Regions from separate parts of the Homo sapiens genome. Here region 1 is linked to region 2. Evidence: promoter capture Hi-C in human tissues and cell types (Jung and others, 2019). All regions are on one chromosome and are shown on one strand. The core of a region is centred on a gene start or on the middle of the fragment in contact, and the rest is flanking DNA. Distances in the headings are between cores, read along the strand shown. Region 1 holds the start of LOC124903986 (a long non-coding RNA gene). Region 2 holds the start of CCL13 (C-C motif chemokine ligand 13).

Evidence for each region. Contacts are between HindIII fragments. The study calls those that stand out against the background at their distance.
Region 1: a fragment that was not itself captured here is called in contact with the fragment with the promoter of CCL13 in region 2 in 1 of the 25 tissues and cell types used here (spleen).

What each region holds. Positions count from the first base shown.
Region 1 is chr17:34,400,882-34,408,133 of GRCh38, forward strand. It overlaps LOC124903986 (a long non-coding RNA gene), which reads left to right and starts at 5,891. Exons shown (of 2, transcript XR_007065722.1): 1 at 5,891-6,095. The HindIII fragment of the contact is 3,260 bases long and covers 185-3,444 here.
Region 2 is chr17:34,352,964-34,360,632 of GRCh38, forward strand. CCL13 (C-C motif chemokine ligand 13) reads left to right here and starts at 3,517. Exons shown (of 3, transcript NM_005408.3): 1 at 3,517-3,639; 2 at 4,512-4,626; 3 at 5,063-5,647. The coding sequence starts at 3,564. The coding sequence ends at 5,168. It overlaps CCL1 (C-C motif chemokine ligand 1), which reads right to left. Exons shown (of 3, transcript NM_002981.2): 3 at 7,365-7,669. The coding sequence ends at 7,596. The HindIII fragment of the contact is 2,821 bases long and covers 2,590-5,410 here.

The sequences.
Region 1 (7,252 bases), core at 565-3,064, 46 kb after region 2:
TCCGTCGTCTGTGATCGATAACGGATGACTGATGTGAGTGGAAATTTTGAATAAAGGAACATGATCGTGCCAGAGAAGATATGAGAAATAAACATGGCAAAGCGGGTCCTCTTCTGCAGGAGCAGGCTCTTGCCTGTGCCAGGACCTGGCACATAACATGGTCACATTAAGCATTGAATAAACATTTGTTAAATGGATGGATGGATTATGATTATCCTGTGAATCCACACAAATTTGGTAGTACCACAGGTATTTCAAAATCGATGTGCCACAATCTGAATTCATCATCTCCGCAACATTCTCTTTTCTCTCATGGTCCATTGGTTATCCAACCAGGACATAGCTGCCAGCCTTGACTCCTCCCTGTCCCCCACTCCGCCCCATCCTCCCTGTCACCAAAGCCTGGCAAGTCTGTACACGTTAAGTCTCAAATGTCGTTAAACCCCTGTCTTTCCCCCACCCTGGAGGCCACCCTCTTGGTCAGGAGAGATTGAGATCACAAGCTCAGGAGTAGGCATGCCTGAACAAGCATGTGCCAGCTTTACGCCCTTTGGTAAAGCACTCAACCTCTGGAAACCTCAGGTTTCTCTTCTATAACATGGGGCAAATAATGGTTCCTACCTCAGTAGAGGATAATTATGAGAGCACAATGTGACAAGTAGATCATCTTCCACCTGACTTAACCCAAAATCCTATTACTGAGTCTCCCTGTTTCAGGTCCCAACCCCTTCTCCCCAGGCAGTCAGAGGGCCCAGTCTGAAATTCAAGTCTGTTCTCTCACTCCTGGTGTCTAGTGAAAGGAGCCTGTCTTTTGGAGTCATAAAGTGTAGATTCATGTGTGCCTAGGAAGCCCAGTTATTTGGCTTTCTCATGCCCTCCATTTATGCATCTCAAAGCATCACCAGGCATTGCTGTATGCTGAGGGTTACATCTGACAGCACAAGTGAGAGCCTTAGCCCAGGACCTGGCACCCACTGGGCACTCAGTAAAGCTTAGCTCTTTTTCCTCTCCCTTCTTTCTTGTCAGGAGAGTGTAGGAGGAAGTTGGGATCAAACCCTGGAGGGAGAGGTCCCAAAGGGTGGAGAAAGTGAAGGGGAAGAGTACCGTGAAAGTCAGGCTGGCAGCCCAGCCTGTTTCATCAGGACACCCCCAGAGAGCTGCCCCTTGCTGAGCAGAGGTATCCAGTGAGCCATCCATCAGAAGCACTGGCAGTGCTGGTAAAATCACAGCTTCCATAGCCCCATCACACTCTATTCTCTAAATCCCCATGCAGTAGGCCTGGGCATGACCTGGGAGTCAGCATTATAACATATATCCCAGGAGGCCCCACTGCTTAGCTGGGTTTGGGAAGCCCTGCTCAGTGAATTTGCCTTTGATAAGCAGCCCAGAAGCCTCCTTAAACTGAAGCTATTCCTTGGCCATCTTTTTGGTAGATAAAAAGTGGCAGCAACAGGGAATTTGATTTCATATGGATGGATTTACATTAATTGGAGAAAACAAAGTCTAGACATTTTGAAAAACCAAGGGACAAGGTGGCCAAGAATGCTAACATTGTACTGTGGCCTTTGGGCTCTCAGCACCTGATTAGAGACCAGGACAAACCTGCTCAGGCCTGGCCTGAGGCCGGGATGGTTCTAGGTTGACTTCGACCAGCAGGTGATCTTCTCTCGAGCCTAGAATAACATCTTTTGTCAGCTGTCTGATGCCACTCTTCTGTCTTGGTACCAGGTTAAATGGCATTTAGAGAAACAATTTGGCACCTGAACTCTAATATTGGTGCTTAGCAGCTGTAAAAGGATGGTGGGGGGGCATCATCTAGAGACCCCACGGCAATAATTCTTCAGATCACATGGAGCCTTAGAGGCTACCATAACTCAATACTAAAGAAGGCCACACAGTTGCAGAAAGGGTACTAAGACTTTCCAAATTCTGACCAGGTATCAGGCCCTGTGCTAGGCCATGTGTATGTGTACTTACATAAATGAATGCATAAATATATATATATATATATACACACACACACACACAAGCATGTACACACATATACGTGTTTATGTGTATATATATGCACATATTTATTTTCTATATATGAATATGTATGTGAATGTTCATGTGCATGTTTATATTCATATATGTATTCATATACATATGCAGGTGTCTACGTGCGTATATGTGTGTATATATAGGATATACTGTATATATCTTCACAGTAGCCCTCATTATCAGGCTTATTTTAGAGTTAAGAAAACTGAGGTGTAGAGAAATTAAGTAACTTCCCAATGTCACAAAGCTGAGTTTGACTCCAAATGCTTATGAAACCAGTGTCCTTTCTACACTGCTTCCTCTCCTAAAAATAAAACATAAAGAGGCACACAGCAGTTCTAGCTCTCTGGAATATGTGTTGTAAATCCTGGGTACAATGACTATAAGAATCTCCAAAACGTGCCTTACTATATCTAGGAGTAGGGGAGACAAGCTCTGGGCATAGCCAGGTAGCCCAGGTGTGCCGGGCCAAAAGATCAGAGACCCAATTCCCAAGTAAGCAAACTGATGAGCTCACTCTTTCTCCTTCCCAACCTTTCTCTGCCTGCCCTATGTTATAGGAACCATGTAATCTATAATAGAACTTTTAGACTCCCATGCATGCGTCGGCTTAGGAGAAGGTGTTTGGATTTAAGAGTCTGGAGCAATAATTTCCTTTTAGTTTCCATTGTAACTTTGAATAGTTACAAATTGCCTCATTGTAGATTTTAAATAAATAATGCATGTCTCTCCAATAATTATTCAAGAGAAGATTTGTTTCTTACCTACCCTGTGGTCTATTACTTGCCTCTGGTATTTTAATAATCTTAATCATCATCTGTTTAGCATCTCCAGGCTGCTGTGCTCACTGCAAGGTAGCTTATACCTTAACCCTGACATGCACAATAATCTGGCCAGTCAAGTTGCTTGTCCCACTTTCTTGTCTGTGTGTCCCATGGGACTGTAAGTTCCATGCAGATAGAGTTGGCATAGAAATGGTTCAGATGCATGGAGCCCCAGGACCTAGCACAGTGCTTGGCACACGGTAAGCATTCCACATTTACTGAAGGAAAGGATGGGTGAATGGATGGATGAGTGCTGGGAGGCTGTATTGTAAATAACAAAAGTGGGATCTGAAGGAAGGTATGGGACTCTGAAGTCTGCATTCCTTTTACCTTTTGCTATATTTTTCTGTCTCACTATTATATTTTGTTTTCTCTGGGCCTTTTTCTTCAGTCACACTTTTCCAAGTTCATGTGTGCTATTTCTTGGACTGGTTCTATTTATTTAGCTGGAGGCAGATTTGCATTTTTAAAGTTCATGTGTTTGTTTTCGAGCCAAGGTCGTTTTTATGTGTGTCATTTCTCTGGGCCTTCACTTTTCACGTTTTATGACCATATCCAGAATTTCCCACTTCTCCAAGAAGTAACTGGGTGGTTGGGAGGGGGGACAGTCAAGGGTATTGGTCCAATGGGCAATGAGATGTGGGTGAGATTGGGGCCAGTTCCTGGGAAGCCCCTCTGAGGCCCCCACACCTCCATGCCTCCATGGCCTCCATGGGCACGGATGGCAGGCCCAGCACATAAGCCTCTCTGCCATCATCCCACCCCAACCCCCACTTGGAGAATAGAGGTCAGGTCTGCTGTATCAACTGTCCTATCTTGAATGCTGGTAGTTGTAATAGAGTGAACGAGAGCTGTATAGGGTCTTATACCAGCAATAGATGCTTCGCCCAGAAATAACACATCACTTCCACTCATATTTCACTGTTCAGCTCCATCCATGGGGTCCTGTCCAACCACGGGGAGCCGGGAATTGTAGTCCCACCAAGGGCCCAGAAAAAAAGAGAGACAGAAGTAATTAATGAATAGCAATAATAACTGCACAACCTCCAAGACAACTTCCCATCTTAAAACCCTCCTGCTTTTCTCTCACCACCAAGAGTCCCAGATCAGAGCCCCTGAGGTCATGAGAATGCAGCCTTTGCCACCCTGCCAGCCTCATTTCTAGGCCTCCATCTCCAGTAACCCAGCTGATTAAGTTCCCTTGGCAGGCCATGCATGGCCCTTCCACATGGTCTTCCTGCTGTCCGATCTGCCCAGGAACTCATTCAGGGTGACTCGGGGCAAATGGCTTCTCCTCCAAGCTAGCCTCCACCAACATCTCCAATTAGAGCTGAGTCCCCGTCTCTGCAATCCTTAGTAACTTGTTCACTGTCCTTGGCATTTTACCCTCTCTGTTTATTCATGAGCATGTATCTTCCACCAGCCTGACCCAAGAGACAGTGACTAAGTTCTACTTGTCTCACAATGCTCAGACCTCACAGCACCCCCAGTGTGAGATGTTCAGCCTACACCTCTCAAATATTTAGTGCTGACTACTTTGACAACACTTATTATTTAGGCATGGCTTATCAATTTTTAAAAATGTTATTAATATCTTTTACAGTTTATTATTTATTCCGTAACTTTCCAAAGGATGGGCCGTCTTGATCTTGCTGCTGCACTTTATGCCTATCCTCATGGCTACTGGGCTACACAGTCTAATTTGACTTTAAGATTCAGGAGGGTGGCCAGGCATAGCTCACGCCTGTAATCCCAGCGCTTTAGGAGGCCGAGGCAGGCAGATCACCTGAGGTCAGGAGTTTGAAACCGGCCTGGCCAATGTGGCAAAACCTCTTCTCTACTAAAAATATAAAAATTAGCAGGGTGTGGTGGCTCATGCCTGTAATCGCAGCTACTCGGGAGGCTAAGGCAGAAGGATCACTTGAACCCAGGAGGCAAAGTTTGCAGTGAGCTGAGATCAGGCCACTGAACTCCAGCCCGGACGGCAGAGAGAGATTCCCTCTCAAAAAAAAAAAAAAAAAAAGATTCCAGGAAGGTATGTTGCCGAAAAGAAAGTAGAGTGTCTTATGACAGACCTGTATCACACCCAGACCAGGAAGCATCAATGTCATCAAAGCATGGATGGCGTGACTATTGTCACTATCTCCTTCCTATGCTCCTGGAAGGATGAATGTGTGGGTGGTGATCCTGGGAGCCTGTGCCTGGAGAGGAGGGAGCCAAGTAAGGCTGTGAATTAGCCAGGACTCTTTTGGTACATGGAGCAGGAACCCTGTTCAAGCCAGCTTACACATGCAGGGAAAATGATACCTGAGAACATCTCTTAGAAACCAAGGACATAGGTCTGGCACGGTGGCTCACACGTGTAATCCCAGCATTTTGGGAGGCTGAAGTGGGTGGATCAACGGAGGTCAGGAGTTTGAGACCAGCCTGGCCAACATGGTGAAACCCCATCTCTACTAAAAATGGTGCGTGCCTGTAATCCTAGCTACTCAGGAGGCTGAGGCAGGAGAATCGCTTGAACCCGGGAGGTGGAGGTTGCAGTGAGCTGAGATCACACTACTGCACTCCAGCCTGGGTGACAGACTGGGAATCTGTCTTAAAACAAAAGAAACCAAGGACGTAAAAGCATCTGAGTCATAAGAGCAAAAGGAAGCAGAGACTTGCATGACGCTGGGATTCTTCTCCCTGCCTCTCCACTTCTCTCTATATGATGCCTTCAACCTTCTCTCTCTGACGATCAGCTTCCTCCTCTTTTCCACTCCACAGGCTGGGAAATACGGTGTCAGGGAGCCCACTGCTTCACATATAACAATCAGGGCTATGAAAGGGAGGCTGCACAGCTCTCTTGGTTCCAAATCTGAAAGTCCCAGGAAAGAGGCACTTGGGCCCAGTTAGAGTCAAGTGTCCACTCTTGGACTAACCAACTAGGTCCAAAGGCCAGAGTGCCATTGTGACCTACCTGGTCCCACTATATGGATGGAGAAGAGAATAAAGGTCACCAACAGTGACAGTGGCCAAGAACCCCTAAAGCTTCACAGGAGAGAATCCGTGTAGGCCTGGCTCCCAACACCAGAAGGACAGAAAGATGGCTGAGCTTGCTGCATAACAACCACGAGGGGAACTTGTCAGAAATACAGATCCCAGGTTCCAGGTCCCAGGTCCCAGTGAGTCTCACTCAGTAAGTCTTTGCTCCTGCCTAGGAATCTGTGGTTCAAGCAAGCATCCCAGGTAATTACAATATATTGTCAGATTTGGGAGGCATTGGTTTAGCTTGTGCTCCAAATTTAATTTTATGTCTGTTTTATTCCTTTCTGCTTTGGGGTTTATTATTCTTTCCACTTTCCTTTCACTAAATAATTTGTACCCCTTCTAGGTTATTTAAGTAGAGACTTAATTCCCAGTTTTTCTTCTTTCTTACTAATAGATGCCATCATAAGCAACAGTTTTTTCTTTAAGTACCAGCGTGACAGCATCCTATAAATTTATATGATATGCTGTGTTTACATCCTTGTTCTTTAAATACTCTGTTCTGAATATCTTCCCTTTCCATGGCATTATTTAGGAGTGTTTTTAACTTCTAAGTGACTGGATAACCCCTTCTTGTTTATTTCTAACTTCATTGAACGAACTGTAGTGTTAGAATACATAAAGCAGAATGTTTCTGTCTTTTCTTATTGAATAAATGTCTTTGCATCATAGTAAGTAAAAAATCTATCCATAAAGATTTCCTGAAAAATCTATCTATAAAAACTCACTGGTCAAGTACAAGATTTGGGTGTTGGGTGTTGTGTGTTGCTGCTCTACCCCAGCCCTCATCAAAAACAAACAAACAGACAGACAAACAAATCACCCTTAACAAAGGCCATAAAGAGCAGGTCTTTGGAGTTGAACCTGGCTGGGCTTCTAACTTGCTCTGTGCAGCCTTAGACAAACAATTCACCTCCTCGGAGTCCATTCTTTTGCCTAGGGAAATCATGAGTGAAGACAGGCATGTACTGGACACTTGATCTTAGTAGCATCCTCTAGGCAGTGTTTGCCCTGCAGGACCAGCTGGGTTATTTAGAGGAGTGAAGACACAGAGAGGTTTAGAAGGAGGCACAGTCCTCAGTATCCCAGGTCCCTGGTGTGCATCACAATCTTTCAATAAAATGGAGCTGATCATGGGTATGAAAATTGTTGGTGGAAACAGACATAAGGGTTGTGCCTACTTAGCTGCTATTTGGCGCATAGAAGAGTCTGAGCATCTTTCCCCTCTTTCTTTCCCTATCCAGTTCTTCTTTATTATTTTAAAAACTCAGCTCAGAGTCAATTCCTCCAGGAAGTATCTGCCCATTCTCTCCCCAGCCCCTATTCCACAGCATTGACTCCTGTACACACAGATCAGC
Region 2 (7,669 bases), core at 2,267-4,766:
AAATGCCAGAAATTCTCTGGAATGACAGGAAGGAGTCCAGAGACTCAGGGAAGTGGATCTGTTGGAATGGATCTAGTCTATCTGTTGGATCTGTTGGAATGGATCTAGTCTATGTGCAAGCTGCTGGGAGGCCCAGGGGGACACTCCCTTCAATCCAGGTATTAGGAAATGTTTTGATGAGTTGTGGGAGGAGGGCAGGATGCTTAAGAGCTCTGTAGTGGCTATTCTTTATAGATCAGTGATGACAGTGGGACATGATATAATCCCATAGTTCTCAAACTTTTGTGTATTTCAGGATCACCTAATGGGCTTGTTAAAGCAGTCTGCCATGCTACTACTGGTGGTAATTAAAGTAATCATGATATGTTGACAGATCCTATTCCTGTGCCCCTTTCCATGGTGCACCTAAAACATACGAGCAATCCAATCCCAGAATCCCATTTGGAAGTTCTATTTTATGGGGCCAATTCAATGTCAGTAAGTGTCCCAGCAAGAAATAGATAACACTTAAAATGGAAGACTTGGAGAAAGGTTTAGTAAAGAAGCTATTTACAAAGATGTAAGTGGGTGAAAAGAGACCACAGGGGTGTTTGGTACCATGAGGCTATTAAGAACATGGTTAGACTGCAAAAAATTTCTCCAGTTCTGTAGGATATCTGTTCACTCTGATGATAGTTTCTTTTGCTGTACAGAAGCTCTTTAGTTTAATTATATCCCATTTGCCAATTTTTGCTTTTGTTGCAATTGCTTTTGACATTTTCATCATGAAATCTTTTCCTGTGCCTATGTTTTGAATGGTATTGCCTAGAGTTTCTTCTAGGGTTTTTATAGTTTTGGGTTTTACATTTAAGTCTTTAATCCATCTTGATTTCATTTTTGTATGAGGTGTAAGGAAGGGGTCCAGTTTCAGTGTTCTGCATACGGCTAGCCAGTTTTCCCAGCACCACTTATTAAATAGGGAATCCTTTCTCCATTGCTTATTTTTGTCAGGTTTGTCAAAGATCAGATGGTTGTAGATGTGTAGTCTTATTTCTGAGATCTCTATTCTGTTCCATTGGTCTGTGTGTCTGTTTTTGTACCAGTACCATACTGTTTTGGTTACTGTAGCCTTGTAGTATAGTTTGAAGTCAGGTAGCATGATACCTCCAGCTGTGTTCTTTTTGTTTAAGATTGTCTTGGCTATTCCACTGCGGCCTCTCAGGGAGTGAGGGAAAGGGAGAGCGTCAGGATAAATAGCTAATGTGGATGGAGCTTAATACTTGGGTGAGGGGTTGATAGGTGCAGCAAACCACCATGGCACATGTTTACCTATGTAACAGACCTGCACATCCTGCGCATGTATCCCAAAATTTAAAATAAAATAAAAATTTTTTAAAAAGAACATGGTTATATTCCTAAATCTAAAAAGGAAAAACAGGGGATAGCTCAGCAAACCTGGATAGGAGAGTCATGGAGAAACCACCTTGAAAGAAGTTAAAACCATTAGTTGAGGGATGTATCCAGGTTGAGGAACACAGGGAGACAACAGAGGAGAAGAACCTCAACTTAACTCTTCTCCCTGCTCTAATGTCCTCAGAAGCTCCCTTGTGCCTAAACCCAGTCAGAAGCTAGAAGGTCAGCAACCTCACTGATGTAACCCACCAAGATTGGCTTCCTAGGGCAGAGAATAGAATGGAAAAGAATGGAATGTGTGTCTGAAGGGACAAGCTTATAATATCCTTTTCTCAGGTGAGTCTTGACACATTTTTGTGTCAAAGTTAGGTAGGTCTCAAAATGAATTGAGTGGTGTACAATCTTTTGATATTCTCTGGAAGAGATTGCACAAGATTGAAATGACCACTTCCTTCAGTGCTTGGAGGAATTAGCTGTTTGTGCCCTTTGAGCCCAGAGAATGTTTTGTGGGAAGATTTTCAATTCCTGATTCCATTTCTTTAATAGCTTTAGAATGACTTTCTATTTTTTATTTATTTGTGCACCCTGGTCAGTTAGATTTTTAAGAAATTCATCCATTTCCTCTAAACTAAATTTTTGGCATAAGGTTCTTATCATTTTCTTTTTGGTGTCTGCAGGCTCTGCAACTGGTTATATGTACCTTTTTCCTTTTTTCTTTTCTTTTTTTTTTTTTCTGGGACAGAGTCCTACTCTGTCACTCAGACTGGGGTGCAGTGGTGCAATCTTGGCTCACTGTAACCTCGGCCTCCCAGGTTCAAGCAATTCTCCTGCCTCAGCCTCCCAAGTAGCTGGGATTACAGGCATGTGCCACCATGCCTGGGTAATTTTTGTATTTTTTTTAGTAAAGACAGGGTTTTACCATGTTGTCCAGGCTGCTCTAGAACTCTTGACCTCAAGTGATCCCCCCGCCTCAGCCCCTTTTTTCTTTTTTTTTTCATTTTCAGTTCAGGAGAGTTTTAGCTTAATTATAGGCTACAGAACCAGCTTTGGGCTTCATCTATCCTTTCTAATATTTACTGTTTCCTATTTCTCTAATCCTAGCTCTTTATTTCTTCCCTTTACTTTCACTGGGCTTATTTTGCTATAGTGGAATGCAGAGGGATGAGTATTCCAGGAAGGCACAAAAACTGTGCCAAGTCTTGGAGCTAGGGATGAGTGGGAAAGGGACATGTTCAACCATTTTAAGCCATTCCCTCCCCACCTCCCAGCTCCCAGATATGTGCCCCTCGCAGGAGGAGCCCAGGAATGGGCCAAACACCTCACTTCTTTGCTCTGAGGGCCACCCCAGCCCTCCCATCAACAGCTCTAGAAACCCAATGGTCCTTCCTGGAAACACGGGGCCTGCATCAATCAGAGGTGTTTGAACCATGTCCCTCTGGGCCTGAGGGGCAGAAGGGGACACAATATGTAATGTAAGGAGCCCCTGTCATCAGAAATCTGACTTAATCTGTTTCAGATATTAGACTTCCACATAAAAGTTGACTTGGAAAAAGACTTCTGCTGCTAAACAAAAGTTGAAACTGCCTTGGTGATAAAATATAAGCAGACCAGCTTTCTCTTCTAGCTTTCCCTCTCATTTCCCATAAGATTTTGGTCAAGTTATTTAATCTCTCTGCATCCGTTTCCTCTTCTATGAAATGGGCATGATAATAATGGTATGTACCTCCTCAAACTAAATATATAACGTGAACAGAGTCCTTAGCACAGCACTCTTTCTCTACAGGAGTTAATTTTCATTGTTTTTCTCTTTCCTGTTGGAGAAAGTAAGAAGAAAACAGCTCCTTTATGGCTTCCCATGGTGAATGGCTGGGGCGCGTCTGTGTCCCTTTCTCCTCTCTGGCTCCTTGTGGCCTGAACAGCCAGAAGGAAGCCATGCCATGCTGTTTCAGCCCTCAGCTTCCCTCTTGCATTTCCTAGAAAAGTCTTTGGTGCCCAGCTCCAGCTCAGCAGATTCAGGATCCCCCTTCATCATGACTTGGTCAACGCCCTGCTCAGGCCAAGGTCCTCTGAGAGTTCCAAGCTTCTCCACTCCCTATAAAAGGCCGGCGGAACAGCCAGAGGAGCAGAGAGGCAAAGAAACATTGTGAAATCTCCAACTCTTAACCTTCAACATGAAAGTCTCTGCAGTGCTTCTGTGCCTGCTGCTCATGACAGCAGCTTTCAACCCCCAGGGACTTGCTCAGCCAGGTAAGTCACCTCCCTTCGACTCTCCCTCTCTTTCCCTCTGTTTCTCTATTCAAGGAAGACCTAAGCCCGAGTGCTCCTCCACTTTTTTTTTAGATTGAGTCTCATTATGTTGCCCAGGCTGAAGTGCAGGGGTGCGATCTTGGCTCATTGCAACCTTCACCTCCCAGGTTCAAGCGATTCTCTTGCCTCAGCCTTCTGAGTAGCTGTGATTACAGGCACCCGCCATCACGTGCAGCTAATTTTTGTATTTTTAGTAGAGAAGGGGTTTCACTATGTTGGCCAGGCTGGTCTCAAACTCTTGACCTCAAGTGATCCTCCCGTCTCGGCCTCCCAAAGTGCTGGGATTACAGGCGTGAGCCACCAGGCCCAGCCAAGTGCCCCACTTCTAAGCCCACCAGAATAGTAAGGCTCCTCAGAGGTTCACTTTAACATCTAATTTTAAAGATAGAAAGCTGAAGCCCATGTTGGAGGCAGAAGGGACCCTAGCCATCCACCTCCAGGTTATTGCAGAGCAAGAATGAAACCTAAGCTTCTGACTCCAGATTTAGGGCCTTTTCTTTGACCTCATCTGATCGTCCCAAACTCTGCAGATCTGGGACCACACCCAGGACCTTTCCCACTGGCCTTGCCCGTGGCCTCCCCTAGATGGCTGTGACATGTCTCCACCATGCAGCTGAGCCTTTGAGATCCTGAGGCACATGTCACAGGTCCCACCTCACCTCAGGGTCTAGGGTGGGAGTGCTGGGCTTGGGGGTGAGTAAGATCTATTTCTTCCTCTTTGCTTTGCATCCCATACAGATGCTCCCTGCTGTATTCAAGCTGAGAAAAGCCTAACACATCCTCAAAGTCTTTTTCTTTGTAACTATTTCTAGATGCACTCAACGTCCCATCTACTTGCTGCTTCACATTTAGCAGTAAGAAGATCTCCTTGCAGAGGCTGAAGAGCTATGTGATCACCACCAGCAGGTGTCCCCAGAAGGCTGTCATGTGGGTAGAAAAATCCCTGCTCACCTGGCTCCTCCCCACTCCCACATTCCCCAATCCAAAGTTCTGCCCCAGGAGACAGACGTCAGACTGACTTGAGATCTTAGGATGAGATCTAGCCAGACTGTGTGATGCAAATCCTCCAATTTTGGCTGCACAACAGGTCCAAAGAGGACCTATAATTTCCCACACCTTGTTTCCTGGATGGGCACCAGCCCACACCCTTTAGCAGATGCCAGGATCAGTTTCCCAGGGGCAGCAAGAGCAGTGGCTGCCTCCAGAGACCCCTTCTGTCCACACACCTCCTACTTCCTGTCCTGGAGGGGTGCCCCTTCACCTGTAGTAGGTGGACCAGGCAGGTTTAGAACCCAGTGTGTCATCTCCTGGGTAAACCCTCAAAGGGTTCCATCTAACTGTGCCAGATCTCCTTCCTCCACAGCTTCAGAACCAAACTGGGCAAGGAGATCTGTGCTGACCCAAAGGAGAAGTGGGTCCAGAATTATATGAAACACCTGGGCCGGAAAGCTCACACCCTGAAGACTTGAACTCTGCTACCCCTACTGAAATCAAGCTGGAGTACGTGAAATGACTTTTCCATTCTCCTCTGGCCTCCTCTTCTATGCTTTGGAATACTTCTACCATAATTTTCAAATAGGATGCATTCGGTTTTGTGATTCAAAATGTACTATGTGTTAAGTAATATTGGCTATTATTTGACTTGTTGCTGGTTTGGAGTTTATTTGAGTATTGCTGATCTTTTCTAAAGCAAGGCCTTGAGCAAGTAGGTTGCTGTCTCTAAGCCCCCTTCCCTTCCACTATGAGCTGCTGGCAGTGGGTTTGTATTCGGTTCCCAGGGGTTGAGAGCATGCCTGTGGGAGTCATGGACATGAAGGGATGCTGCAATGTAGGAAGGAGAGCTCTTTGTGAATGTGAGGTGTTGCTAAATATGTTATTGTGGAAAGATGAATGCAATAGTAGGACTGCTGACATTTTGCAGAAAATACATTTTATTTAAAATCTCCTACACAGTGGTGTTTTCTTCAGGAGTAACTGCCAACCAGTAGGGGCTCTCAGAGGTGTGGGTGGATGGCATGCCAGTGGAAGGCAGATGTACAGAGGCCCTGGCCATGGGGCTAGCCTGGCTCATCTGAGTTTCAAGGAGGGCCTGCCTCACCAGCCCAGGCTGTTCTGGAACAATGGCTCCAGTCCCCAGCATGGGCGCTCCTGGCTCGCAACTCATCCGTTTCATATTCAGTTCATTTCTTTCTTTAAAACCACACTCCTGCCAAAAGTAAACCCATCCCTCCCCCTCTAGTCTCCCACCCCAATCTATGCCTCCCCACTCCAAGCAGCAAGTGATTCAGACTTCATGTGCACCTGACACTCAGAGGGAAACCAGATGACCAAGTCCTAGTGAGCCTCAGGATTGGTAGGGAAGAGGGTGCTTGGGCCTAATGGACTTTAGAGGATGGGGAAGTATGGTCATAGCAAAGATTCTTTTAGGGGAGGTCCAAGATAGCAATGTGGGGAGAGGGCCTGGGGGGAATATCCCCAAACGGTCCGATATGGGCTTCCAGAATGTAAAAGTTGGAGACATGTAGAAATGAAAGTTGAGGGCAGGTTCTAGAGGAATTAGAATATCAGGGTGGGGAGTTTAGACTCAGTTCTGAAGGCAGGAGGAAGGTGCAAAGGTTTTTGAGTCATCCAGAGGGAAGAATGGATGCCAGGAAGACTAGCTATTGGCTGTGGATAAGATGGAGTTGAGAAGGGAGGGCGGAAAACAGCCTACTGCAATAGTCCAAGCAAGAGAAAATAGGGGCTGAAGAAGGGCAGTCATGGGGGTGGAGAAGAGGAGGCAGATTAAGAAGACTGGGCCAGATGTGTGACATGTTGAATGGGGAATGAGGGAAACACAGCATGAGACCTTTGCCCTCTAAAAGTGATCTTTAAAGGCGTGCCAACCCCAAGACCTAGAAATACTTCCTTCCTTGGCTATTCTTCCTTGAATCACACGTTGTACAAATTGAAGCTTGTGATTGTCCCTTTTAAAGCGTTGGCCCTCCTCTTCCTATATGTCCACCAAGGGTTTATCCTGCTCTTCCCAAGACAGCCTCACTCCTCCAGATAAGCTGGGTGGGCATCTCAATCAGACCCAGAACCTACCCATGCCTGGACACCCACTGAGATCTTCCTCAAGAAGAGATGGGCACTGCTGACAACAGCAGGGCCTGTCCCCCAGATCTGGTACCACACTGCATCAGGCAGTACACTTGGCAATGTGGGACACCTGGAGGAGTTGTCCTAGGAGGCAACAGCTCTAGGCTCTAATGCCAGATCTGCCCCTGAATTGCTGCATCTCTCTTTAGCCCTCAGTCACCTCATCTATAAAATGGGTTTAGCAACATTTTACAGGCAGACAACCTCACATGATCCCCTCCAGCTAGGGCAGTTGTGATTTGGTGATAACATCACCCCCCAAGCCCTCTGGGCAGGGCAGGGAGAAGAAGAGTCCTGCACCCAAATGTGGATCCAGCTGTGAACCCCAGCTTTCTGTTCCACTGTACCACTCCTGGCAGCCAAATCTGGAGGCAGAGAATCTGCACCACCACCCTGACTCAAAGCTTACACCCCAGGACAAAGGCAGTCACTGAGAGCTAGTGAGTCACTTATTAGCCCAGTTCCCCTGGCACCAGGTGCAACATGTCTCCCTCCTCCTGACCCATCCTTCAGCCCCTGGCTCCCACCTCTCAATGCCAATCAAGTTTTCACTCTGAAATCCAAGAGACCCAGAGGGTTGGGGGTTGATGATTGTATAATTTAAATGTTTAAAGTGCAACAACATAGCTTATCAAGACCAAGCAGATCCTCTGTGACCTAGCAAAAGCAGGGCAGAAGGAATGGTGTAGGGCTGGTAGTTTCGGGGACAGGTGAAGCCATGTGGTTTCCAGAGCCCACAATGGAAAGAAATCTGCTCATTTTCTTTTTGACGGGCAGTGCCTCAGCATTTTTCTGTGCCTCTGAACCCATCCAACTGTGTCCAAGGCGC